Linked DNA regions of Homo sapiens: all the other regions are linked to region 3. Evidence: promoter capture Hi-C in human tissues and cell types (Jung and others, 2019). All regions are on one chromosome and are shown on one strand. The core of a region is centred on a gene start or on the middle of the fragment in contact, and the rest is flanking DNA. Distances in the headings are between cores, read along the strand shown.

Region 1 (4,288 bases), core at 255-2,754, 55 kb before region 3:
TGGACCTGGAACCTGAAGCTCCTATCAGCCACTACACCTGTGAACCTGTGGGAACAGTGAAGTACCTGTTTAAAAGACAGCCGAAAAATAAGTAAATGCCTACCAACTTTCCTTGGTGTCTTTGTTGCATACTTATCGTAAGCTGGATATTGGTAGCTATTTTTTATATTTTTACAATTTGTTTTATTCAAAATGGATGGAATCACTTCCTTTGTAATAATTAACCAAAGTGTTTCAATTCATTTTTATAACAAGCATTCCTGACAGCATAGGTATCCACCCCCTGAAGTTCCCATTCTATAGGACAAAATAACAAATAAGTAATTTTTTTTTTGTTCCATAATGGTCACCCACAGCCTGTGTATACAGGAACCATGTCTTACTAGCAATCAGCTTTATTTCACAACAGAGCTTCCCTTTACCCCTCCAGCAATTAGTGGATTCTGGGTATTTATTAAGAACTTTAAATTTAACACAAAGACTTAAATACCACCAGCCCAGCCCTGGCAAAGGACTGTTGGTTTTGTTTATCTCCATCATCATCTAAATATACTGCCATCCTGATCCCAGCCCAATCTTGGGCCCTTAAGGAAATGACCTATCACCCTAACTACAAAGGAGGAACTCTCTTCAAACTAATGAGCCTGGATGACATACATGAATTCAAAATCATGGAAATGACAAGGGTTACAATGACAGGATAAGCAGTAAACCTACTCCAATCCCATCTGAGCAACCTTTCTGGAGTTGCATCCCCTCAGAAACCAATTTGGGGCCCAATATAAATGTACACAGAGCTAAAATTGCAGGTGCCACTTTGTATTAACAGAAGCGAAAATTCTGGTCCGGTCCTTGGAACCTTGAAAAGTCATCAATGTGCCGGACGCGGTGACTCACACCTGTAATCTCAGCACTTTGGGAGGCCAAGGCGGGCAGATCATGAGGTCAGGAGATTTGAGACCACTCTGGCTAACACAGTGAAACCCCATTTCTACTAAAAATACAAAAAACTCACACCTGTAATCCCAGCACTCTGGGAGGCCGAGGCAGGCAGATCATGAGGTCAGAAGATTTGAGACCATTCTGGCTAACACAGTGAAACCCCATTTCTACTAAAAATACAAAAAACTAGCCGGGCGTGGTGGCACGCGCCTGTAGTCCCAGCTACTCAGGAGGCTGAGGCAGAAGAATCGCTCGAACCTGGGAGGTGGAGGTTGCAGTGAGCTGAGATCGCACCATTGCACTCCAGCCTAGGCGACAGAGAGAGACTCCATCTCAAAAAATATAATAAATAAATAAATAAATAAATAAAAGTAAAGATAAAATAAAGTCATCAATGCAACTACACCCTGGAAGTTAATCCTTCACTCGATTACGTAAGCTATACAGTTACCCAAACCGCATCATTTAGATAACCTGTACGGTTTTCATGGAAACCATCCCTGGTTAAGGGCTTTAAAGGATGGACAGCCTAAGTATGGTCGAGGCAGGCCCACTAGCTGCATTCACGGTTTCCCTTGTGAAGAATGTACTAATCCTGAGACGTCTAGTTGCCTTTTGGTTCCCCAGTATGAAAATACCTCTGGGTGATTGTTACTGGACACTAAGCCTAACTACCTCCACTGGGAAAAGAGAACTGCTGGGGCAACTCAAGATACTTCCCAAGATCCTTTCCAGCCTTTAACCAGGGCCACCTTAGCAAAGACCTCAACCATATGGGAAAGTGAAAACAACAAGCTAGCCCATGTGTTCACCATAGAAAACAAGTTCTGTCTTGAAAAACAAGGAGCCTTTTTCCCGTGCGGGACCAGTTCCTACTTAGATTTACCAGCCAACTGGACTGGAACCTGTAACTTGTTATTTAGCTCCCAAAATTAATGTAGCTCCCAACAACCAATTCTTCACTATACCTTTAACTGCAACCACCAGACACAAATGAGCCATCCAACTCACACCCCTTTTGGTTGGGTTAGGAAGAACAGCAAGAGTAGAAACGGGAGTTAGCAGGCTTGCAATCTCCCTATCCTATCACTAACTTGTCCAGAGATTTTATGGAAAGCTCAGAAGACACTGCCCAAAGTATCGTCGCCATACAAAATCAGACAGACTCCTTGGCAGCAGTCACTTTACAGAATTGAAGGGGACTGGATCTCCTAACTGCTTAAAAAGGTGGCTTATGTCTTTTTCTAGAGGAAAAATGCTGTTTTTATGTCAACTAATCAGGATTAGTAAGGGATGCCGCCTGGAAATTAGCTGACTGGGCCCCTAAGATACGACAACAGCTGTCTGAGTCATGGGGCTCCTGGTCAGAAATGCTAAGTTGAGGTGCATGGCTCCTTCCTCTAGCCGGCCCATCACTAATGACTATATTTGCCTTGGTTTTTGGACCATGTTCATTAAATCTCTTAAACAAATTCATTTCCTCTCGCCCAGAGACCATCAAGCTTCAGATGATCATGAGACAAGGTTTCCAGCCAGTTCCAGGTAAAGACACCACCCCTGGCCATCCAGCAACTACCATGTCTCCACTAGACAGAGCAGGGTGAGAGTTCCATGATCCCCAATAGGTAGGAACTGTGCCCAAATCAGCATGAAGCAGTTACTGAAGAAAAAACCATCAGTCCCTCGGCCTCCTATAAAGATGATGGGGATCACATCTCGGGGGAAATGAGGCAGGAGAATAGGGTCTGGAGGCAAGGAACCTAAGGCCGATTTGTGCTGACTTCCTAGAACTAAATCAAAAGGAAAACTCCACCTCTCCACATCCAAGTAACAAAAGAAGAGGCTACTCCCTTTGCAACGCCCCCCATTCCACTGTATCGCAGACGAAAAATGGAAAGTACCTGATTGGTCGCCTCCCATGACCAATCAGAATGGTAGAGGGCCTGGTCTTCATTTACACAGGGTGTAAGCAGCTAACCAATGGGAAACCTCTAGAGAGTATTTAAACTCCAGAAAATTCTGTAACCAGGGCTCTTGAGCCGTTTACGCGAGCCCGATCCCACACTATGGAATGTACTTTTGTTTCAATAAATCTGTGCTTTCATTTCTTCATTTCTTCATTCCTTTGTTGCTTTGTGCATCTTGTGCAATTCTTTGTTCAAACCGCCAAGAACCTGGACAACTCGTAGTCAAGACCCTCCCCAGATAATACCATCTAATGTAGAAGATTCCTTCAGTGTGGAAGGGTGAGGCTGCAATGAGCTGAGATTGCACACCATCACACCACTAAACTCCATCCTGGGTGACAGTGAGACTGTCTCCAAAAAAATGTAAAAATATAAAAAAAGATTTATACAAAGATTAATTTTTTTAAATTGGAGTGGCTAGATTAATATCAGATAAAGCAAACCTCCCAGTAAAACAAAATTACCCGAGACACAGGGAAACATGTATATAATGATAAAAAGGTCAATCCATCAAAAAAAAATAGCAAGTCTAAATATGTGTATACTCAACAACAGAGCTGCAAAATAAGTGATACAGAAACTGACAGAACTGAAAAGAGAAACAGACAAATCTGCAATTAAAGCTGGAGACTTCTACACCTCTCTCTTAACAATTTGTAGAATAGACAGAAAACCAGCAAGGATATAAAAGAGCTCAACAACACCATCAACCAAAAGAATCAATCAACATCTGTACATGCAGCACACAACAGCAGAATATACATTCTTTCCAAGTGCCCACAAAATAAATATCAAAATAGACCATATTCCGAGCCATGTAACAAACGTCAACAAATTTAAAATTAAAATTCTTTCAGTTTAGTGTATTCTCCCACCACAATAGAATCAAACTAGAAATTAATAACAGAAAGATAACAGGTAACTCTCCAAACACAAAGTAAACAAGACAGTTCTATATAATAATCTCATAGGTCAAAGAGGAAATTTCAAGGGAATTTAAAAATACATTGAACTGAATGAAAGTGAAGAGACAACACATCAAATTGCAGGACACAGCTAAAGCAGTGCCAGAGGAAAACATATAGACCTACATGTCCACCTCACAAAAGAAGGAAGTCTAAATAATCATCTAAACCCCCAGCGTGAGCCACTGCGCCCAGCTGACATTTCTTCAAAGAAGATATACAAGTGATGAATAGGCTCATAAAAGATGCTCAACAATGGCTGCATGCGGTGGCTCATGCCTGTAATCCCAGAGCTTTGAGAGGCCAAGGTGGGAGGATCACTTGAGGCCAGGAGTTCAAGACCAGTCTGGGTAACATAGCAAGACCCCACCTCTACAAAAAAAAACAGTTTTAAAAACTTAGCCAGGCATGGTA
Region 2 (4,801 bases), core at 536-3,035, 35 kb before region 3:
CTAGGGACAAAGCATAAGGTCCTAGAGAGAAGTCGACTGAGAAGTGTCTCAAAGTAGGCAGAGGAGTGGGATGTGGGGGTGTCAGGGTATGAAGTCTGGGGTGGGGAGTGGGGCTCAGGGTGGGGCAACAGAGAATCCTGAGAGGAAAGAGAATGAAATCCTGAGAAGGAAGAGCCAAGTCAGAGGACATCCTGAGAGGAAAGAACAGGGAATTCTAGGAGGGAAGAGCAGAGAATGCTGGGAGCTAAGGGCAGGGGATCCTGGGAGGAAGGAGCAGAGAATGCTGGGAGCTAAGAGGAGGGGACCCTGGGAGGGAAGAGCAGGGGATCCTGGGGGAGAAGTACAGGTATTCCTAACAGACCCAACTCCTTGGGAGAAAGTGAGGCAAAAAAGACCTGCCCCTGGGAATGTTCTGCCACTGGCCATACAGCATGTGAGGAACTGGGCAGAGGAGCCTGTAAACCTTGACCCCTCCCCTTCGAGTCTGGCCCCAGCACTTGGATATGGGCCAGAACCATTGCCTGGCAAGGTCTCAGGGTAGAACAGGGAGCCAATCACGGGTCTTCCCTCAGTGGCCTCAGGAGGACACAGCTCTAGTTCCATGTCCACTCAGGCCCTTAGGTAAACCTAAAACCAGACTTCCACTGGGCTGAAGGAATAGGGGTCCAGGTGGTCACTGGCTCATGAGGTCACCCTGGCCATCCTCCTGCTCATGGCAGGCTCTGTGGGCAGCCCACTTCAGGAGCATGTCTTAAGGCTGGCCTCAGTCCCCAGTGGCCCTGACAAGACTGAGCCAAGAGACAAGTGGCCCTTTGCAGCTTTTGCACATTTTCTCAGGCATCCTTCCCCACCACCTTGGTCAACCTCTCATCCATTCTTTACCCTCAGAAAAAGAAGCAAAATGCTGAAATGTGACAGAGTATGTGAGGAGGAACAAAGCTTCCATCTAGGGAAGCCAGGTCAGGGTAAAATAACAGCATCACCCTGTGGGCTTTCATGGAGGGTGTGACAGGCCAAAAAAGGCCTGCTCCTCCCTTCCTCCTGCCTGGTTCCCTGGGGTCAAAAGTGGCAAGCTCAGAGTCACCAAAGCCAAACCATGGCCATGGCCATGTCCGTGGTGAGGGTAGGAGAGGAGGTTGTTACTCCAAGCCGGCTTGGGCCTGTCTTCGCTGGACTCACTTGGAATCCCAGACACCAGCTTCAGGGGCCTCAGCACACGCACAGCCCTCAGTGTTCGCAGGTCGAAGTCAGTTCCAGCCGTGGCAAGGATCCTGGCAGAAACAAGGAGAAGAAGGGAAGTAAAGGTTTCCACATTGAGCCTGGAAGAGGACACACTCCTCCCACCACCAGGGTCATGTCTCCCAAGAGCAGTGACACCTTCATTCCTGTGTCCCCACTGTCCAACCACAGGGCCAGCACCTGTGTCCCCCCACTGTCCAACCACAGGGCCAGCACAGAGCGGCTTGCCAGGTGAGAGGAGGCAGGAACTGAATCCAGAAGCGCTCACAGGAATGTTCACAATCACCCACATGACCAAACCTCCAGTTCAAAGGCACCATCTCTGAATAGACACTTGGCCCCTGGCATGGCAGGAAATCTGTCTACCAATTGAGTTTAAGGCTGACCCATATCCCCTAACCAACCCCAGCTGCACTTCAAGCTGCCTTCTGAGAGGAGTGGAGACTGAGAGCAGGAGCAGGATGGAGCCTGAGGGACTCCTGAACCGACCCCCATATACCACCATTCTTTCCCTTATCTCAGGAAGACAGGGAAGTGGGGTATTGGAAAGGTGGAATGAGGAAGACACTGTGGTCAGTTCTATTAGCAAAAAAACATATCCCAGTATCTCCCATCTTAAGAACAAAACTAAAGATCCCATATCTGCCTTCTACCACAGAGCATTTCTCTGTTCCCTTCCCATCAGAACTCACGGATGGTGTCAATCCTCGGTCTCACCACTTCCTTATCTTGAGCTCTCTCATTAGCTTTCTCCAGCCAGGTTCTCACCCACCTCTCCACTGAAATGCTACCTCAAGCCTTCCTCTTGCCAATTCTAACGGTCAAGTCTCCTTTAAAGGGTGTGGTCTCTTGCCTTAGGCCAACTCTCTCCTGTTTTCCTCCCACTCCCTGGGGGCTCCTTCTTAGTTTCTTTTGCCAGCTTTGCCTTCTCTGCCAGAGATTCAAAACGAGGGTGCCCCAAGGCTCATTCCATGTAGGAGCTACCCAATAGCTTTGAGTATCACGCATGTCCGTTATTCCCAAGTGTGTATCTTTAATCCAGACCTGGAGCTCTAGGCTCATATATACAACTGCCTTTTTAACAGTTCCATATGGGTATTTTAAAAAGCATATGAAACATTACACAACTAAAGAATTATTTTTTTCACTTTAACACAAGTATAAAAGATGTACCTTTTTTCTAAAGTTCAGAGTTGTTACATCACAGTGACTAAGAAACTTTCTATTCTTACTTCCAGTCCTGCTCCTTCCCCCTTTGTTCCCCTCAGCGGATCGCACCAGTCACCTATTGTTTAAACCAAACCTGAAACTTCATCCCTGACTCCGGTCCTTCTCTCATATGCCACGTCCGGGTCACCAACAATCCTGCTGGCTCTGCCTCTAACGCGCATCCAGGGTTCTTGGCGAAGGCTTTGTGATCACCCGCTCCAAACACATAGCCGTAACAGACAAAATCTGAGACAGAACTGGGGGTCAAAAATAGGATAAATATCGGCCGGGCACAGTGGTTCACGCCTGTAATCCCAGTACTTTGGGAGGCCAAGGCAGGTGGATCCCCTGAGGTCAGGAGTTCGAGACCAGCCTGACCAACATGGTGAAACCCCGTCTCTACAAAAAAAAATACAAAAACTAGCTGGGCGCAGTAGCGCATGCCTGTAATTCCAGCTACTCGGGAGGCTGAGGCAGGAGAACTGCTTGAGCCCAGGAGGCAGAGGTTGCAGTGAGCCGAGATTGCGCCATTGCACTCCAGTCTGGGCTACAGAGCGAGACTCCGACTCGAATAAATAAATAAAGAAAAGATAAATATCTCAAAATAAAAAAAGAAAAAAAGGACAATAAAAACCCTTCTATTCAAACCAAAATGCCAGGTTACCTGAGGAAGCCCAATGCTACGGGAAGACATTCAGCAGGATCAACTATTGAAAGAGGAATTTTGTTCAGATAAAAACAGTAAACTATTAAACAAAAACAGGTAGAAAAGGTAGAAAATTTAAAACTAGCTAGATCAACGGAATAGAATAATAACCCAGAAATAAACCCCCACATATATGTCAACTGGTTTTCAACAAAGGTACCAAGACCATTAAGTGGAGAAAGAATGATCTTTTCAACAACCAAGCAGAATAAAGTTGGACCCTTACCTTACACCAAATACAGAAAGTAACTCAAAATGGATCAAAGATCTAAATATAAGAGCTAAGACTAGAAAACTCTTAGAAGAAACATAGGGGAAAATATTCATAACATTGGATTTGGCAATAATTTCTCGGATATGACACCAAGAGCACAGGCAATAAAAGAAAAAATAGATTAGATTGAACTTCATCAAAAGTAAAAAGTTCCGTGCATCAGAGCAAGGGTCCCCAACCCTCAGGCCACAGACCAGTACTGTTCTGTGGCCTGTTAGGAATCAGGCCACTCTGCAGGAGGTGGCGGCAGGCGAACGAGCATTACTGCCTGAGCTCCGCCTCCTGTCAGATCGGCGGTGGTATTAGATTCTCATAGGAGCATGAATCCTACTGTGAACTGCACATGTGAGGGATCTAGGTTGCACGCTCCTTATGAGAATCTTATGCCTGATGATCTGTCACTGACCCATCACCCCCAGATGGGACCGTCTAGTTGCAGGACAACAATCTCAGGGCTCCCACTGACTCTATATTATGGTGAGTTGTATAATTATTTCATTATATATCACAATGTAACAATAATAGAAACAAAGTGCACAATAAATGTAATAACGCACTTGAATCGTCCCAAAACCATCCCCCGACCTCTGGTCTGTGGAAAAATTGTCTTCCATGAGCCCAGTGCCTGGTGTCATAAAGGTTGGGGGCTGCTGCACCAGAGGGCACTATCAAAAAGTGAAAAGAAACCTACAGAAAGGGAGAAAATATCTGCAAATCATATCTCTAATAAGGGATTAATATCCAGAAAATATAAATACTCTTACAACTCAACAACAATAAAAACAACTCAATTTTAAAATGGGCAACGGACTTGAATGAACATTCTTCCAAAGAAGATACACAAATGGCCGATAGGTGCACGAAAAGATGCTCAACATCACTAATCATTAGGGAAGTAAACATCAAAACCACAATGAAATACCACTTCATACTCACTAAGATAGCTATTATTGGCCAGGCGCGGTGGCTCACACCTGTAATCCCAACACTTTGGGAGGCCGAAGCAGGCAGATCACCTGAGGTCAGAAGTTCAAAACCAGCCTGGCCAACATGGTGAAATGCTGTCTCTACTAAAAATACAAAAATTAGCCAGGCATGGTGATGGGGGCCTGTAATCCCAACCACTTGGGAGGCTGAGGCACAAGAATCACTTGAACCCGAGAGGTGGAGGTTGCAGTGAGCTGAGATCATGCCACTGCACTCCAGCCTGGGTGATAGAGTGAGACTCCATCTCAAAAAAAACTAAAAATGAAAAAAAAAAGTTAAACATAGAATTAACATAAGATCCAGCAATTCCCCTTCTAGCTATATATCCAAAAGAATTGAAAGCAGGACTCAATCAGATACTTAGACAGCAACGCTCATAGCAGCGT
Region 3 (4,787 bases), core at 1,310-3,809:
GCCTGCCTCATGGTGTGGCTGGGCTGTCCATGCTCCTCCTCCTCACCCGGCCGTAACCCAGACCACTGGGCATTCCAGACTGTGCTCCATTAAGACCTCCTCACCTCGGCCACCCATAACTCACCTCCTGGTGCCTCACCTCCAGGACAGGCTCCCTGTCTCCCCTTCTGCACTCCTGGGCCTGCGGTGGCCCAGGTTCAAAGGGAGTTCAGTTTCAGGGCTAAAGTCTGAATAGCTCTTGTCTCAGGATGCTAGTGGGGGCGGAAGCCAGGCTTAAGGGAAGAGGGAGCAGCTCCTGACACCCCAGAGAGGCCGTCTCCTGGACGCCTCTGGCCCCGCACCCCCTGGGCCCCCACTTGCTCTGCCTTCTGCTCACCTGGAGGCTCCAGTCTTTAGGCACACTCGGAACCCAGACATGGGGCCAGGCATCAGGGAAGAGTGGGGGCTGGGGGACATGCTCTGACCTCAGAAACTGCTCACCTCCAAAATGCTGCCCTTCCTCTGACCCAGCCCCTCCAGAGACCCCACAGGGCTGGCCTTCCACCTTGCCTCCTGTTGAGCCACGGAGACCTTGCCCTGGCACCCTGACTCACACAGACTCTATGCTCCAATGGGGGCTACCACGGGGGCCTCTTGGCTGGAATCTGGGGACAGGTAAAAATGATTCAGAATGTTTGAGAAGGAATGCTTCCCACAGGATGGTGAGGCCCACTGGAGAAGAGGTTCCAAGCAGGCCCGCACAAGACAACTTGGAGGATGAGGCTCAGGGTTCCCACATCCAGGCCAAAGCCCATCTCAGCCCAGCAGGGCACACATGGCATTCAGAGCTGACCTTCCCGAAGACATGAATGCCCCTTCCCCACCCCAAGTTTAGAACATGGTTTTCTGGATCAAAGTCTAGCGCCGAAAGCCAGGACAGCCATTGAGGTGCAGGAGTAGCTCGTGGCACAGGGCAGACTGGCCCAGGGCTAACGTGGCCACGCCCAGGGCTAAGCCGGTGACCCCAGCTGCCCTGGCCCTCGAGGAAGGTGTTATCTGCCAGGCCTACCTTTTCCTTCAGACGCGAGGGGCACTGCCCAGACGACCCTGCCCGAGGAAGCTGTTCTCAGGCACAGACCATAAAGGAAAGTGGAGTCGCGGCCTCCCCACCACCCTGCCCTCAGGCCCAGCCGGGCACTCACCAGCCGCTCGGACATGGGCGTTTTGTCCCCATCAGGGAGGTGCTGCTCCAGGGCCAGCACGATGCAGTTGGCGATGATGGTGGCCAGGATCATATACTCGAATGGAGTGCGTGAGTTAAGGACTGGCCGGCAGACGCCGCACGGAGGGAAACACGAGGCCGACGCCAGCAGAGCCCAGTGCAGCAGCCACCGCTAGGCCGTCTCCGGAGGGGCTGAGACAACTGGGTCCGGAGCCCCTCTCCTGGCGGAAGCGGCCTGGTCTCCCTCACTCCCTGCCCCCATCCCTAGGGGCGGCCGCGAGGCGGGGCCTCCGCAGTCTGGGCCGCCAGCCCCTCGGCACACCCGGGCGGCCGTCAGCACCGCGGACAGCGCCTCCGGCCCGGCTCCGCCCGACTCCAGGGCCCCGAGGGGAGGGGGCCGAGCGCCCCCAGGCGAGGCTGGAGGGAGACCCCGCGCAGGCGCACGCTGCTCCCTCCAGACACGCAGCCACATGTACCTACACAGGCACGTGAACATGCATGTAGCCCGCATCGCGAGCGCACGCACGCGCAGCGCCAGGCTCCAGCTCAGCCCGCACACGCAGGCACCTGCAGCCAGGCGCGCGCACGGCCGCGTCCCCACAGCGCTCGCACCTGCACGGACGCGGCTTCGCCCTCGGTGCCCTCCAGGCTAGCCGCGCACTGTGCACCGACCAGGATCCCCAGGACCCGGCGTGCGGAGGGACGAGTCCGGAGCAGAGGGGCTCCGCCCCGCGCCCGCCGCACTCACGGAAATGCTCCCGCACCCGCCGCTCCGAGGGGCCCTGGGGCGCTCCGTACCCCCCTCGCCCGTCTCCCGACGCCTCCCCAGGTCGCGCCCTCCCGGCCACCGGGAAGATGGCCCCGGCCCCGGCCCCCACCCCGGTCCCCGCCCGGCCCCGCCCGGCCCCGCCCGGCAGGATATGGCCACTCGGTGATGCGCTTCGCGTATTTGCGGACGACGTTGTCCTCGCTGAAGACGAAGAGCGAGCGGTTGACGGTGAAGCAGTTCTGCTTGACCGGGATGGGGTTGTACAGCGCCATGGTCCGCGCGCGCTGCGCGATCGATTGCTTGTAGAGGACCCGCTGGCCGGGCTGCAGCCCCCCGGGACCCGGGCCCCCCGCCCCGCCGGCCCCGCCGCCCCGGGCCCGCTCTCCGCCGCCGGGGCCCCCATAGCGGCCGCCCAGCTCGTCCCCGAAGCGGACCATGGCTCCCGGGCCCCGCGTGCATCCCCGGCCCAGCGGCCCCGGCAGGGAGGGCGCGGGGCGCGCCAGGCGCTCAGAGCGGAGCAGCCACGGAGCCGCCGGGACCGCAGCGGACCTCGCCCGGCCCCACCGCCGCAGCCGCCGCCGCCTCACCCGACTCCGCGGCCCCGCGCCACGCCCTATAAGGGGCCGGTCACGTGGCGGGGCCCGGCCAATCCGCGCCGGCCCCGCCCACCCTGCCGCGCCGGCCCCGCCCCGCGGCCGCCCCCGCCCCGCCCCGGCCCCTCCGGCTGCGCCTCCCTCGCCCCGCGCCTCCCACCCCGGGGCTGGGCCGGGCCCAGGAGCGGACGAGCCTGTGGGTCCTCGACGGCCGCTCAGCGCCAGCCCGGGCCGTCCCCGGAGCCCACTCTGCCGGCCGCACCGCCCCTGGGTGCCCTCGGCTCCTCAAACTCGGCCCAGACGGACCCCTCGCTCCGCCCGGAGGCGCCACCAGCCCTGGGGCTGCAGCCCAGAGCTGGGCGCCAGGCCTGGGCCGGCCCGCCCCGTCCCCGCCGGGTCCCCGGCCTTCCCAACCCTCCGGGTGCGCTCGGCTCGCGGCCTTGGTGCCACGCGGACGCTTCTGTCGGGGGCCCCCAGCCCGGGTGCGGGACCTGCTGTTTCCACGCACGGGGCTGGCTCCGGGATCTCAGCTCAGAGAAGCCTCTGACCGCCTTGCAGGCCACGCCCCGTTAGGGAACCTGTCACGGTCACTGCCATTCCCCAGGCCTCCTTGAGCGCCCACCGCGGGCCGGGCCTGTCCTGGGCTCCCAGCTCTGCCCTCACGGAGCTGACCGTTTTGTACAAAGCACAGCAACCATTTACACAGCGCTCACTTCGTGCAGGCCCGTGGGTCCTCACAACCTCCAAAAAGGCGGCCCCGGGGTCGGGGAGACCTTCGGGAACAAGGGACCCTCTCGGACCTGAAGCTCGCTCGCAAGGCGCTGAGTGCAGAGTGAGGCCGGGTGCGGGCTGCGCCTTCTGAGAGGGAGGCAGTCCGCACAGTTCCGAGCAGAGGCGCGTAGGCCTCTGAAGGGTCCCTCGGGCTGCCGTGTGGAGTGTGGACTGCAGGAGGCTGGGGTGCTGAATCACTTAGGATGCATTCAGAGGCGAACAACCCGCTTCCCAGCTAGCAGCAGCTTGCACGATGCCATTGTGATCTCACTGAATACGAAGCCACCATCTCTCCTCCCTCCAAAATCCCCACATACACTTTCTGCCTTCCTGCCTGTTGCCTCATGCCCCAGGGTGGCTGTCATAGCACAGGGCATCACACCGCTACACCAGCATCTCAAACGGGAAGGAAGTGGCAGGTGTACAAAGGATGACCACTTTGTGAATCAGGTTACGATTTTCTTTTCTAACAAAGGAAAAGCTTCTCAGAGGCTCCCCCTGCAAGTGTCTCTTTAACCCCGTTAGGCCATGGGCCATGTGGCCGGCCCTGACTTTAACAGGGTGGGAAAGTGAACATGTGTCAAAGTGGACCAGGATGGCCAGCCCCCACTAGGCGAGCACATAGTTGCCCCAAACAAAATCAGGGTTCGCTTAGCTGGGAAGCAGGTGCTAAGGCTGTCGGGGAGGCTGCCAACTGGCCTGTCACAGAGAAAAATCAGAGCCCAGGGAGGGGTTTTGACAGCAGCACAGAGAGAGATGATGTGGTTTGAACATGGGGGCCATGAGCAGTGCCTCTTTCTCTTAGAGAGAGTGCGTCCAGTGTAAATGTGAAGGAGAGATAGAAACACAGGCTCTTCATTTTTGGTCTGAGTGACTGAGTCGAGGGGGATGCCCTTTGCCGAGATGGGGAAGACAGAGGGAAGAGCTTGTTAGTCACAGGGTGGAAATTAAGAATTGCCTACTGGGGACAGAAGTGGAGATGCTATGCAGGGGTGGAGTTTCTCGAGGGATGCCAAGACGAGAGGCCACTGCTGCAGCCCTGCGCCTGGAGGCTGGGCTCGCCACATCTGCTCTGCCCTTCCCTCCGTGCTGCGTGACGCTGGAGCTGGCCTTTGAAAGCCACATCAGCCTGTTCCTTGACCTGTGGTTTCTGGTTATGCTAGCCCAACAGGAGCACCAAAGGCCCTTGAGGGAAGGAAAGAGCAAGGCCAAGGTGTCTACTATTCCCCTGACTTCCTCCTGCCAGGTCACCGAGGGTTGGCTGTGCACCTCAATTGAAGCTCCGGCCCTGTCAGGCACCCACCACTCTCCTTTCTCTCTCTCCAGTTCCAGTTCCTGCGTCCTCCCCTTGTTCCTGCCAGCGGGGGATGGCATCACGCAGGCATGGTGAATCCTGGCCCTTGGGACTTCCCTGCGCCTTGCACAGATCGCACAGATTGTGGTAGATGGTCCC

Evidence for each region. The method cuts DNA at HindIII sites, captures the fragments that hold promoters and counts their contacts. A contact is called where the count stands out against the background at its distance.
Region 1: a contact is called between a fragment that was not itself captured here and the fragment with the promoter of CACNA1B in region 3, in 3 of the 25 tissues and cell types used here (dorsolateral prefrontal cortex, lymphoblastoid cells and stomach).
Region 2: a fragment that was not itself captured here is called in contact with the fragment with the promoter of CACNA1B in region 3 in 5 of the 25 tissues and cell types used here (dorsolateral prefrontal cortex, heart right ventricle, lymphoblastoid cells and 2 more).

What each region holds. Positions count from the first base shown.
Region 1 is chr9:137,929,940-137,934,227 of GRCh38, reverse strand. The region is part of intron 6 of CACNA1B (calcium voltage-gated channel subunit alpha1 B); the gene reads right to left. Among named protein-coding and RNA genes, the nearest start is that of CACNA1B-AS1, 15 kb to the left of the region's middle. The HindIII fragment of the contact is 9,868 bases long and covers 1-4,288 here.
Region 2 is chr9:137,909,650-137,914,450 of GRCh38, reverse strand. CACNA1B (calcium voltage-gated channel subunit alpha1 B) reads right to left here. Exons shown (of 47, transcript NM_000718.4): 4 at 1,180-1,271. Among named protein-coding and RNA genes, the nearest start is that of CACNA1B-AS2, 19 kb to the right of the region's middle. The HindIII fragment of the contact is 6,756 bases long and covers 1-4,801 here.
Region 3 is chr9:137,875,554-137,880,340 of GRCh38, reverse strand. It overlaps CACNA1B (calcium voltage-gated channel subunit alpha1 B), which reads right to left and starts at 2,559. Exons shown (of 47, transcript NM_000718.4): 1 at 2,124-2,559; 2 at 1,182-1,287. The coding sequence starts at 2,407. CACNA1B-AS2 (CACNA1B antisense RNA 2) reads left to right here. Exons shown (of 4, transcript NR_121583.1): 3 at 4,661-4,787. RefSeq lists an enhancer at 1,451-2,366. The HindIII fragment of the contact is 23,600 bases long and covers 1-4,787 here.